Regions from separate parts of the Homo sapiens genome. Here region 2 is linked to region 1. The links are contacts of gene promoters, found by promoter capture Hi-C in human tissues and cell types (Jung and others, 2019). All regions are on one chromosome and are shown on one strand. The core of a region is centred on a gene start or on the middle of the fragment in contact, and the rest is flanking DNA. Distances in the headings are between cores, read along the strand shown.

Evidence for each region. Contacts are between HindIII fragments. The study calls those that stand out against the background at their distance.
Region 2: a contact is called between a fragment that was not itself captured here and the fragment with the promoter of TBATA in region 1, in 2 of the 25 tissues and cell types used here (liver and thymus).

The regions. Positions count from the first base shown.
Region 1 is chr10:70,784,063-70,790,526 of GRCh38, reverse strand. It overlaps TBATA (thymus, brain and testes associated), which reads left to right and starts at 5,150. Exons shown (of 11, transcript NM_001318241.2): 1 at 5,150-5,242; 2 at 5,754-5,880. The HindIII fragment of the contact is 18,774 bases long and covers 1-6,464 here.
Region 2 is chr10:70,861,623-70,867,960 of GRCh38, reverse strand. All of the region lies in intron 7 of SGPL1 (sphingosine-1-phosphate lyase 1), which reads right to left. Among named protein-coding and RNA genes, the nearest start is that of PCBD1, 24 kb to the left of the region's middle. The HindIII fragment of the contact is 9,380 bases long and covers 1-6,338 here.

The sequences.
Region 1 (6,464 bases), core at 3,901-6,400:
GAATGTACACCAACATAGACCACATCCTGAGCCACAGAACAAACCTCAACACATTTAAAGAATTAAAATAATATAGAGTACCTTCCGCAAGCACAATTGAATCAATGTTGAAATCAATAGCACAAAGATAACTGGAGGGTGGGCATGGTGGTTCATGTCTGTAATCCCAGCACTTTGGGAGGCCAAGGTGGGTGGATCACTTGAGCTCAGGATTTCAAGACCAGCCTAGGTAACATGGCAAGACCCCATCTCTACAAAAATACAAAAATTAGCCAGGCGTGGTGGTGTACACCTATAGTCCCAGCTACTTGAAAGCTGAGGTGGGAGAATCACTTGAGCCTGGGAGGTCAAGGCTGCAGTTAGCTGTAATTCCACCACTGAACTACAGCCTGGGTAACAGAGTGAGACACTGTCTCATTTTAAAAAATAAATAAATGAAAAAGATAACAGGGAAATCTACAAACATTTGGAAATTAATAACATGCTTCTTTAAAAAATCCATGTTGGTAAAAGAAAATTTTAAAAGAAATTTTAAAAATACATTATAACTGAATGAAAATGAAGACATAGCATATCAAGATTCGTGGGCGACTGCTAAAGTACGTTGGGAGGAACATTTATAGCACTAAATGCATATATTAGAATAGAGGAGGCCAGGCACGATGGCTCATGCTTATAATCCCAGCACTTTGGGAGGTCGAGATGGGTGGATCATGAGGTCAGGAGTTCAAGACCAGCCTGGCCAAAATGGTTAAACCCCGTATCTACTAAAAATACAAAAAAATTAGCTGGACATGGTGGCAGGCGCCTGTAATCCCAGCAACTCCGGAGGCTGAGGCAGAGAATTGCTTGAACCTGGGAGGCAGAGGTTGCAGTGAGCGAAGATCGCGTCACTGCACTCCAGCCTGGGTGACAGAGCGAGACTCCATCCCCCTACCAAAAAAAAAGAGAGAGAAAAGTGTCCAACAAATAATCTAAGCACCCCCCTCACAAAACTAGAAAAAGCAGTGCAAAATAAATCCAAAACAAGCAGAACAATGAAATAACGAAGATAAGAGCAGAAATCCATGAAATTGAAAACAGAAAAAAAAAAGGAAAAATATCAATAAAACAAAGAGCTGGTTCTTTGAAAACATCAGTAAAATTGGCAAACTTCTATCTAGCAAGACTGGCAAAAAAAGAAAGAGAAAGAAATCACAAATTAATAGTATCAGGAATGAAATAAAGATATCACTACATATTCTACAGATATCAAAAGGATAATAAGAGAATATTACAAAACAACTCTACACAAATAAATTTTACAATATAAGAGACATTGGCCAACTCCTTGAAAAAGAAACTATTACAACTCACCCATTTTGAAACAGATCTCTTGAATAGTCCCATAACTGTTAAGAAAATTGAATTTTCAATTTTAAAACACCCCAAAAAATAAATCTCCAGGCCCAGGTAGTTTCACTGGAGAAATCCAGCAAACATTTAAAGAAGAATTAACATCAATTTTACACGATCTCTTCCAGAAAATAGAAAAGGAGGTAACACTTCCCAATTCATTTTATGAAATTAGTATTACCCTGATGATACCCAAACCAGAGGAAGATACTACAAAAAGGAAACTACAGATAAATATTCATCATAAATATAGGTGCAATAATCCTTAACAAAATATTTTCAAGTAGAATCCAGCAATATATAAAAAGAATTGTACACCATGACCAAGTGGGGCTTATTCCAGGGATAAAAAGCTAGTTCAATATTTGAAAAATCAATGTACTGACCAGCAAAAGAAGAAAAATCACAAGATCATATTAGTTGATGCAGAAAAAAAGCATTTGATAAAATTCAACACACATTTATGACAAAAATGCTCAGAAAAATAGGAAGAGAGAGGGACTTCTTTAACCTGATAAAGAGTATATATAAAAAACCTACAGCTGACATTATATTTAATGGTTAAAGACTCTGTGTTTACTTCCTAAGATTAGGAACAAGGTAAGGATGTGCACTCTCACCACTGTTATTCAACTTAGTATTGGAAATTCTAGGCAGTGCAGTAAGACAAGAGAAGAGAAGAGAAGAGAAGAAAAAGCATATATATGGGAAAGAAAGAAAGAAAGAAAACTGTCCCTATTTGCAGATGATATTATTACCTATGTAGAAAATTCCAGGGAATCTACAACATATCTCCAGAAACTAATAAGTGAGTTCAGCAAGGTTGCAGGATACAAACTAACATACCAAATTAATAGTGTTTCTATATACTAGCAATGCATATATGGACACCAAAATTTAAAATACCATACCATTTACAGTTCCTTTAAAAACAAAAACTGAAATAGGTGAAAATCTAACAAAACATGTCCACGGCTTTTATGCTGAAAACTATAAAATGCTGATTAAAGTAATCAAAGAATATTTAAATAAATGGAGAGATATACTATGTTCATGGACTGGAAGACTCAACATGGTAAAGATGTCCATTCTCCCCAAATTGATACAGAAGTTTAACCTGATTCCTATAAAAATCTAAACAAAAATGTTTGTAGATATCAATAAGATTATTCTAAAATTTGTATGGAAAGGCAAAGGAACTAGAATATCCAAGACACTCTTAAAAAAACAAAGCTGGAAGTCTTATACCACTTATATAGACATCAAGATGTATTTAAAGTTACAGTAATTAAGAGAATATAGTGTTGGTGCATTGGTAGACAGAAAGTCCAGAGACAGACCCACACATATACGGATACTTGAATTTTGTTAAAGATGGTACTGCAGAGATAAGGACAATGTTTTAAGTAATGGTACTGGGTCGAATGGATATTTATATGGAAAAAATATATATAAATTTTGACCCCTATCTTACACCAAACACAAAAATCAATTCCGTATTGATTGTAGATCTAAACATGAACAGCAAAACAGTAAATCTTCAGAAAATAATAATGAGAATTATCTTCATAACCTTGGGTAGGCAAAAATCTCTTAAAACACAAAACCCACTAACCATTAAGGACAAAATTGATAAACTGGGTTATGTTAAAATTAGGAATTCTCTTTATCAAAAGACTGCATATAGACACAGACAAGCAAGACACAAAGGAGAGAATATATTTGCAACACAAATAACTAAAGATTTATCTGATCATTAATTTCTCCATCTATAGGATTACATGAGGTAATATATCTAAGAGGTTGGCACAGTGCCTGGCACATAGAAAGTGTTCCATGAAGTTTCTATTGCCTCTGTTATGACTGAGTCATCCAGGCCAAGGACTGTACCTCAAATCACTCTCAGGCTGACAGATCTCTCTACAGTTTTTGACACTCCACAAAGGAGTCAGAAGAGTTTCCTCAGTTCTTCTTTTACAAACCAGTGTTGAAGACATTTCCTGAGGAACCCCTTCATCCCCCCAGCTGCAGTCCCTATGCAGACCCCCATGCTCGATTGTAAATAACATAGTTGAAGCATTACAAGGCACCAGTGGGGAGGATGAGAGTGGGTTTTCATCTCAGCTGAGTCAGCTCGCGTGGTGGGAAATGCCACAAGAGTGCTGAAAGCAGGAGGGAGGAGTGGCTTGTCACGGGGAAGAAAGCCTCTCTTCTCCCAAATGCTATATCATCTATCTTCACAGCTGCCAGGATGCCCAGAAGTATGGAAGAGGGGGTTTTCAGTATGATTTCAAAAGAGTCACCGTATTCCTGCAGAGACAGGCCCAGAAAAAGCCAGGGAACATCCTGACCTGCCGAAGGATGGGTGGGCATTTGGAGTAGGCCAAGACCAGAGGACAGCCCTCAGGGGGCCACCAGAGTGGTATGAATCCCCACCCCTTAGCTGGGAGGGGCAGAACTTTTGAAGGACTTGGGTTTGCCTCTAGCTACCCACCTTCCTTTTCTTGCTCCCCAGAGAAAAGACACAGAGTCTGGAAGCCCCAGGGCACCAGTATGAAGCCAGGGGTGCTGAGAGCAAAGGCCCTGGGAAAAGCCCACCTCATCATTCTGAGGGACAGCACCCGGCACTGTCTGCAAGCCTTCCCATAGTTTACAGAGCCTGTCTGCACCCCTCCCGGGATCTGATTGAGTTACAGCCCTGTCGGCTAAGAACTATCCTTACCCCCATTTGACAGGTGTCCAAGTTGAGCCTCAGAGAAATAGTGAACTACCTAAGATAGTTCTCAGACAAAGGACTCATCCTACTACCTCCATCAAGTTACCAATAATAATGATGATTATTATCCTTTTTGAGCATCTCTTGTGTGCCAGACATACAACTAAAGGCTTCACTTCCATTAGCTTGTCTTCAGAACAACCACAGAAGTAGGTGAGGATATCCCATTTTATAGACCCAGAGAAGGCAATAATAGTAAGAAATTATACTTGGGGGCAGATACTGTTTGAAACGCTTTAATATATATCAACTCACTTAATATTCTCAAACATCCTGTGAGAATAAGTGCAGTATCATCATCTCCATTTTAGAGATATGGGAACTAAGGCTCAGAGAAGGCAGGTGCATTGTCTGAGGCCACACAACTAGGAAGTAGCAGAATAGGGACTCGAAGCAAGGATTCTTCCCACTATTTTGCATCTGTGGCAGTCCCGGTGACTTACCCAAGGTAACGTGTCTATGGGATGTTGAAATCTGATTAAAACACCTGTCCAAATGCAAGCCCAGAATCTTCCCACCCAGCTGTCATGCAGAGAGAGGGGCTGGGGTCCCTCTGGGTAATGCGGGCTGCCATCTTCTCTCCTTCCAAGACCCACCTCCCTGAGAATGGGTCCCCAGAACCAAGATGCATGGAAGCCGACCCCTGTGTGGTGGGGTCAGGCCAGGTGGGGCTGACGAAGCTGGGACGCAGCCCACCAACGTCCTCTGCCAGCGTTCCGCCTCCATCCGCTTCTCTCTGGCTAAAACCAGCCCCAGACTCTCCTTCTCTCCCTTGGCCCCCATTGAAAGTGTTGGATGGGAGGCAGCAGGGAAGTCAGGAGGGACAGAAGGTCCTTAGCCCTTGTCTACCCTTCCAGGAGGGGGAGATAGGCAGGGGATGTGGTAGAGGGGTGCTGGGCAGAGGTTCTGGAGTTGTGGGAACAGGGTAACCTAGCAACCACTGGGCTCAGTGTCACAAAGCAGGCAGACTTGCCCACAGAACCCACAGCCTTCCCCTCGATTTGTCCTCTTGCTCCTTCCTGCTAGGACAGCAGGGCTTCTCGTACACATGCTGTAGCGGGCACTGCCTTGGTGAGTCCAGGGACCTCTCGGGAGAGGAGATGGACCCTGGACAGCCCAGAAGGGCAGAGGTAGAAAGGGAAGTTTTGTGGCTGGATTGATGGGAGCCCTCAGACCCCTCTGCCTGGCTGGCTGGGGCCCCAGGGACAGAGAGCAGGGGCAGGGCAGGGCAGACTACACTGGGGTCCCACCTGTCCCGCTCTGGACAAGGCAGGCTTGGCCTACTAGAGTCCCTGTCAGCCTCTCTACAGCCGCTGTGGGTTATGACCCCCTGGTGGCTTATTAGATCAATTTAAATGGATCATATCTAACATTTAAGAAATAAAAACCAAAAATAGGGTAAAAATATCAGTGTGCATCATATGTAGTACGGATAAATATTGCTTCAGGATATTATTGTTTTAGTTTCACACACACACACAAACCCATATGTGAATTGGATCATGACATAAAGAATTTCTTACCGTCATCACAGCCAAACACATTTGCAAGTCTCTGTTCTAAAGAGTACTTTTTCCCATAGGCAGGAGGATTTGGGGCTTCCACATATCCTGTTCTCAAGATTGTAGCATCTCAGTACTCTAGAGCCCAGTACCTGACATCAAGGATGTCTGGAGCTTCCTTTTAAGGAAAGAAAAGATCAGCAAACTGTGAGTCAGACTGCCCGGGCTCTGGTTCCTTCTGTGTGACCTCAGCAAATCTCCCCTGCTTCCCTGATCTCAGACAACTCCAACCCATCCCACTACCTGATGAAGGCTGGCATTGGGAGATCTCTGGGGTCCCTTGCAGATTCTGTGACTCTGAGGGTTAATTCTCAGAATGCACTGATGTCCTGTCCCAACCCCATCCCTAGCACTTTGGCTAGATATATATATTCAGGTCCATAGATTTAATCATAATTCTTGGTTTTGACACCTATCATCTTTCATCTATGCCATTTAATTAGTTTATTTAATAATATAATAAACACAAGCAAATACACCACCCAAACCAAGAACAAGAACATCATCACTAACACATCTCCTTATATGCGCTTCTCCTGCACACTTCCCCTCCCCGCCTTCCCTCGGAAATAGCCACTATGTGAATTTCGTGCTTAGCATTTCCTTGTTTGATGCTGTTGTTGCTGTTTTATCGCATGTTCATGATCATTTTGCTTGCTTTTAAACTTTTATTTTTAGAAAGGATCTCAGGCTATGTGGTCCTCTGGAACTTGTGGTCCTCTGGAACACAC
Region 2 (6,338 bases), core at 1,206-3,705, 80 kb before region 1:
AAATTGTGATTACAATTCTAGTAAACTGTGCAATACACTAAAAAGAGACATTCAGATTTAACAAAGTAAACTGCTGATTTTGACAAGTTTGAAAGACAGAGAAAAGCAGAAGTTTCTACTTGATGGAAGTTTGTTGCCTTATCTGAAATAAAACAAAAATCCTAATTTTTTTTAAGTGAAGTGAAATGTTTTCCTAAAGTTTGGCCTAGCCCCTCTGATAAACACATTTCTTTACCAGAGTTCAAACAAAAAGACGTAGGGGTCTTTTTATTCATCTTATTTCCCTCACTGGACTATAAATTCATGAAAGTAGGGACCAGTCTGTTCATGACAAATTCCTAGCACCTGACATAGTGGCTGACACCTAACAAACCCTCAATCCATTTTTTTTTTTTTTTTGAGACAGAGTCTCACTCTGTTGCCCAGGCTGGAGTGCCATGGCATGATCTCGGCTCACTGCAGCCTTTGCCTCCTGGTTCAAGCGATTCTCCTGCCATAGTTACCCGAGTAGCTCGGATTACAGGCGCCCACCACCATGCCCACCTAATTTTTGTATTTTTAGCAGAGACGGGGTTTCACCATGTTGGCCAGGCTGGTCTCAAGCTCCTGGCCTCAAGTGATCTGCCCACCTCAGCCTCCCAAAGAGCTGGGATTACAGGTGTGAGCCACTGCACCTGGCCTTCACATTTCTTAATGCCTGACTTGACTCTCAGTAAACCTTGACCAACACAGGCATGTCATAGCCACCTGGCTATTTTTTTAAAAAATAATATATGAGAATGAATCATTCCAAAACAAACAAAAAGCCACAATACTAAACTAGTTGGACAACTTCTTAGACTTACCATCTCTGAAGATTCATACAATCTTTGAAAGGTTTTTTCAATTTACAGGTGAGAAAACTGAGCCCTTGAGGAATTAAAGTGTTTCACTCAATGTCATACATTAGCATCTGTTGATAAGAAGTAAAACTTTCTACGTTTTCATATTTAGTGTAGCTTAATACAAGATGGAATCAGAGAAAGTGACCACTGAACTTTGCTAAAATAATATCCACACATAGAACAAAAATACCATTGGATACAAAATCCCTGTGGCCAGGAGTTATATGGAAGATGAACTGAGAAAAGTCATTTTTTGACTCAGGAAGTCTTTATGAAACATGTGACCATCACCAAAAAATAATGCACCCAACTTGGGCATGGGACACTTGTAGGTCACTACATTTCTACGCTGCAGAAGACAAAGTGCTTACAGCTGAGGTCAGCTCTGCAAATCAGCAGCATGTCCTGTGGTTTAGCATAAAACCTCAGAATGTCACAAGAGTCGTCAAGCCAGCTGTGAAGAGTCGGGGAGGGACCAGCAAAGTCCAAGTCACCAGTGCAACAATCTCTTCGTAAGGTCCAGTAATGACCTAAGCAATAATATTTCCAAATTCCTAGTCACCTGCTTCATGTGTCCTACTTTTAGTCCAATAACTAGTCAAAACATCATTGTTATGCAAACACCAGTGGACTTTTGACTGTAAAAGTAGGAATACCTAAATTCTACTTTTTTCTTTTTTGTTTTTTTTTGAGATGGGGTCTCAATCTTTCACCTAGACTGGAGTGCCATGGCGTGATCTCGGCTCACTGCAATCTCCACCTCCCAGGCCTAAGAGATCCTCCCACCTCATCCCCCAAAGTAGCTGGGACTACAGGCACACCCCACCATGCCTGGCTAACTTTTGTATTTTTTGTAGAGACAGGGTTTCACCTAGTTGCCCAGGCTGGTCTCGAATTCCTGGGCTCGAGCGATCCACTTGCCTCAGCCTCCCATGGTGCTGGGACTACAGGCGTGAGTCACTGTGCCTGGGCCTAAGTTCTACTTTTAATATGTATTTTTGATTCTGTGTTTTAAAATGCTATTACTCTCCCACTTCTTTCTACCTCCTATACCCAAAGAGAAACAGGAATTTTAACTGTGAAGTAAGAAAATGGAGGCCTCAGTAACTATTTGTTATGTCATTCAACTTCTTTCAACATGTATAAAAACTCTCACTTTAACATATGATATGTATTTCAGAAAACAAGAGAACAACATCTACTTGGAAAATTTTCTTTCAGATGCTGTTTGGATCTGATAACATTAGCACAAGCCAAGAAGAATGTTTCACATGGTAACCTAATTTCTTTTAGTATGTGAAGTTACCTCTATCATTGTAACTGAGACAAATAAAGTTAATAGAAGGAAAGATAGTTTAAGGCTGAAGAACAAAGAATGAGAGAGCTTACAACTCTTAACTCTTAGCTAGGAATAACCTAAAGACTGCCCAGCCATTTGGTTTTATCTTCTGGCTTCCCACCTCTGAACAGTGAACTCTTTCTTCACTAGAAGCAGCTCATCCAGAGAGAGAAGTAAGAAGCTAAGGGAGGAGTGGGGGAGACAGAGTGGGAGAGGGAAAAAGACAATACCAGTGCTGATTAGTTATTTTATAAAAGTCTAAATATTAGAAGAGCCTGGGAATCAGACTCTATCCTTCTTCTGATCCCTCACACGTGCTGAAGATCAAAATAATAGAGATATGGTTTAATTGCAGCAATGCAAAAAACCCCTAGGCCTGGACTTCAGGAGTAAGATGGGAAGAAAAAAAAAAAGGGTGAGTGCAGGGAGAGAAAAGAGTCAAAATCTACAATAACAACAACCAAACAAGGAAAGAGAGATAATCTAGGCAATAAACTTCAAATATTGGCAATCAAAAAAAAAAAAGAAACAGTGAAACAGCAGAGAGCAGAAGTAAGCAAAACACTAGTTTCTAATCAGCCCTTGAAACTGTACCGCAAAGTCAGCAAAATCCTGAGAATTTTCCTTTATACCCCCAAATCTGCAGAGGCAAGCTGAGGGGGTTTCCTTATTTTCTTCTTCTTCTCATGAGTGAGTGGTAAACATGGCTGCTAGGGAGAAATGAGCAAAATGAAGAGAGAACATCAGGATTGGCTCTTTAGAGTGAAGACTTCAGTGAATTAAATAATCAGAGCTCAAAGGGTATATTATCTCTTCCAAATAAGAGAGTGAACTCTGATAGGTAACTTTGAAGAGAATCTCAGAATAGACCTGGTTATTCTAATACAGATAGAACAAAGCTTTGGCTGAGCTTTGTCCCCAGCCAAATGGTCTCAGACAGGAAGCACCCACAGTGCATAAGAACAATGTCTGGAGAATGCCACCCCAAGATGAGAGAAAATGGCAAGGAAACTATGCAAACAAACTAAAAGGCAGGGGAAAAGGTAGTATGTAGCATGCAAAATAAAAACCCAACACAGAAGGAAACAAGCTAAGGGATGAAGGAAACCCCTTATAACTTTCTCACTATAGGAAAATATCATAAGAACATGAATTTAAGAAAACAAAGAGTTCAAAACCTAGACCATGAAACAAAAAGAATGAGCTACAGACCTAAAAAAACAAAGCCAGTAGCATCCATACAGAACTAACAAAGACATTAGGAACAGCAAGGAATAAAATAAACATTGCCAAGAATAAAAATGCTGACTTCAAGGAAAAGGTCTGAAATAAGTTTATTGAACCCAGATTTAAAAAAGACAGAGATTGAAAGATCAATGCCACTCCAAATGTGGAGAACTGTGTTCAATCTGGCCAGAGGCAACCAAAAGTCATACAGAGAATGACTGCGATGGTTGGAAGTCTGTGAAATCATATGAAAAGCGGAGTAACCCAGAAAAATGTGGGGCAGAGAAGATTCAGGGAGAAAGGGGCTTTCAAATAGACGAAGGTCTGTAACATGGAAAAAACAATTATGGAACTTCTATTTCTAGCAATATTATATACCTTGAGCAACCTTCCTAACTGAAATAACTAAAAAACTTGATAAAACATCAAAAAAAAAAAATTTAAACCTATCACTAACCTAACATAAAGAAACTTGCTAAACCCCCAAACAAAGCAAAATCAAGAATCCTGCAAGATAAGTGAGTGGCAAAACTAGCTTTCACCCTGAGGTGGCACCAGACCCTTCAGACTTCAAACTCCTACACTGACAGATGAGCAAAGGATGGACCAGAAGATACATTAGAGACTGCCCAAGATAAGGAGTCCAACAGGAGATGGCTGGAAAAAGACCACACTCTACAGTGTACAAGAAATAAATCCCACTACTGCAAAAGAGAAAAGAAAAACTGTTTTTCTCAACCCTGATGTTCAAGTAAAGAAAAATAGCAATCTTTCAAGAATGTGTAACAAGGAAGCCTTTATGTGAGTTTGTGGTCAGAATTCACACTACCTCTGTGGTACAAAATGACAAGCTAAGGATTTGACTTAATTTGGTTCCAGTGTGGTGGCAATCCCCAGCAACTCAAAAAGGTATGACAAATCTTCTCTGGAAGAAGAGAACTTCCAGACTTAACTTCAATCTAGGCCTCAAAGAATCCCTAGGTTCCCAGAAAAATGAGTGGCTCATAAAAAAATAAATAAATAAAATAAAATCACAAATATAAGGAAACAAGGAACCATGACTGAAGCCAGCAGAATCAGGTAAGGCTCATGGATATTGGAATTATCAGACACAGAATACAACATATTTATGTGTAATATATTTAAGTAAACAAAAGTTAAGCCAAGGAAAAGGACTATAAAAAACAACCAAGCAGATTAAAAAAAAAAAAAAAAAAAAAAGACGGCCAAGCGTGGTGGCTTACGCCTGTAATCCCAGCACTTTGAGAAGCCAAGGCAGGCAGATCACTTCAGCTTGGGAGTTCAACACCAGCCTGGGCAACATGGTGAAACCCCATCTCTACTAAAAATACAAAAATTAGCGAGGCATGGTGGTGCATGCCTGTAGTCCCAGCTACTCAAGGGGGCTGAGGTGGGAGGGTCGCTTGAGCCCAGAGAGGTCAAGGCTGCAGTGAGCTGAGATGGCACCACTACACTCTGGCCTGAGCAACAGAGTGACACCCTGTCTCAAAAAATAATAATAAAATAAAAGGAGAACTACAAAACAGAATTCTTTAGAATGAAATTAGAGTAAATAAAATTGAAAAGCCCAATGGGCTTCTACTGTGTCCGGAATTGGTGGGTTCTTGGTCTCACTGACTTCAAGAATGAAGCCGCGGACCCTCGCGGTGAGTGTTACAGCTCTTAAGGTAGCACGTCTGGAGTTTGTTCCTTCTGATGTTCGGATGTGTCCGGAATTTCTTCCTTCTGGTGCGTTCGTGGTCTCGCTGGCTCAGGAGTGAAGCTGCAGACCTTCACAGTGAGTGTTACAGCTCTTAAGGCAGCGCGTCCGGAGTTGTTCGTTCCTCCCGGTGGGCTCGTGGTCTCACTGGCTTCAGGAGTGAAGCTGCAGACCTTCGTGGTGAGTGTCACAGCTCATAAAAGCAGCGTGGACCCAAAGAGTGAGCAGTAGCAAGATTTATTGCAAAGAGCGAAAGAACAAAGCTTCCACAGTGTGGAAGGGGACCCGAGCGTGTTGCCACTGCTTGCTCTGGCAGCCTGCTTTTATTCTCTTATCTGGCCCCACCCACATCCTGCTGATTGGTAGAGCCAAGTGGTCTGTTTTGTCAGGGCGCTGATTGGTGCGTTTACAATCCCTGAGCTAGACACAAAGGTTCTCCACGTCCCCATCAGATTAGTTAGATACAGAGTATCCACACAAAGGTTCTCCAAGCCCCCACCAGAGCAGCGAGATACAGAGTGTCGATTGGTGCACTCAGAAACCCTGAGCTAGACACAGGGTGCTGATTGGTGTGTTTACAAACCTTGAGCTAGATACAGAGTGCCGATTGGTGTATTTACAATCCCTGAGCTACACATAAAGGTTCTCCAAGGCTCCACCAGACTCAGGAGCCCAGCTGGCTTCACCCAGTGGATCCCGCACCGGGGCTGCGGGTGGAGCTGCCTGCAGGACTGGAGCTGCCTGCCAGTCCTGCGCTGTGCGCCTGCACTCCTCAGCCCTTGGGTGGTCGATGGGACTGGGCGCCGTGGAGCAGGGAGTGGCGCTCGTCAAGGAGGCTGGGGCCACACAGGAGCCCACGGAGGGGGTGGGAGGCTCAGGCATGGCGGGCTGCAGGTCCCGAGCCCTGCCCCAGGGGAAGGCAGCTAAGGCCCAGCGAGAAATCGAGCGCAGTGCCGGTAGGCCGGCACTACTGGGGGACCTAGAACCCCCTCCGCAGCTGCTGGCTGGGTGCTAAGCCCCTCATTGCCCGGGGCCGGCAGGGCCGGCCGGCTGCTCCGAGTGCGGGGCCCGCCAAGCCCATGCTCACCGGGAACTCTAGCTGGCCCGCAAGCGCTGCGCGCAGCCCTGGTTCCGGCTCACGCCTCTCCCTCCACACCTCCCTGCAAGC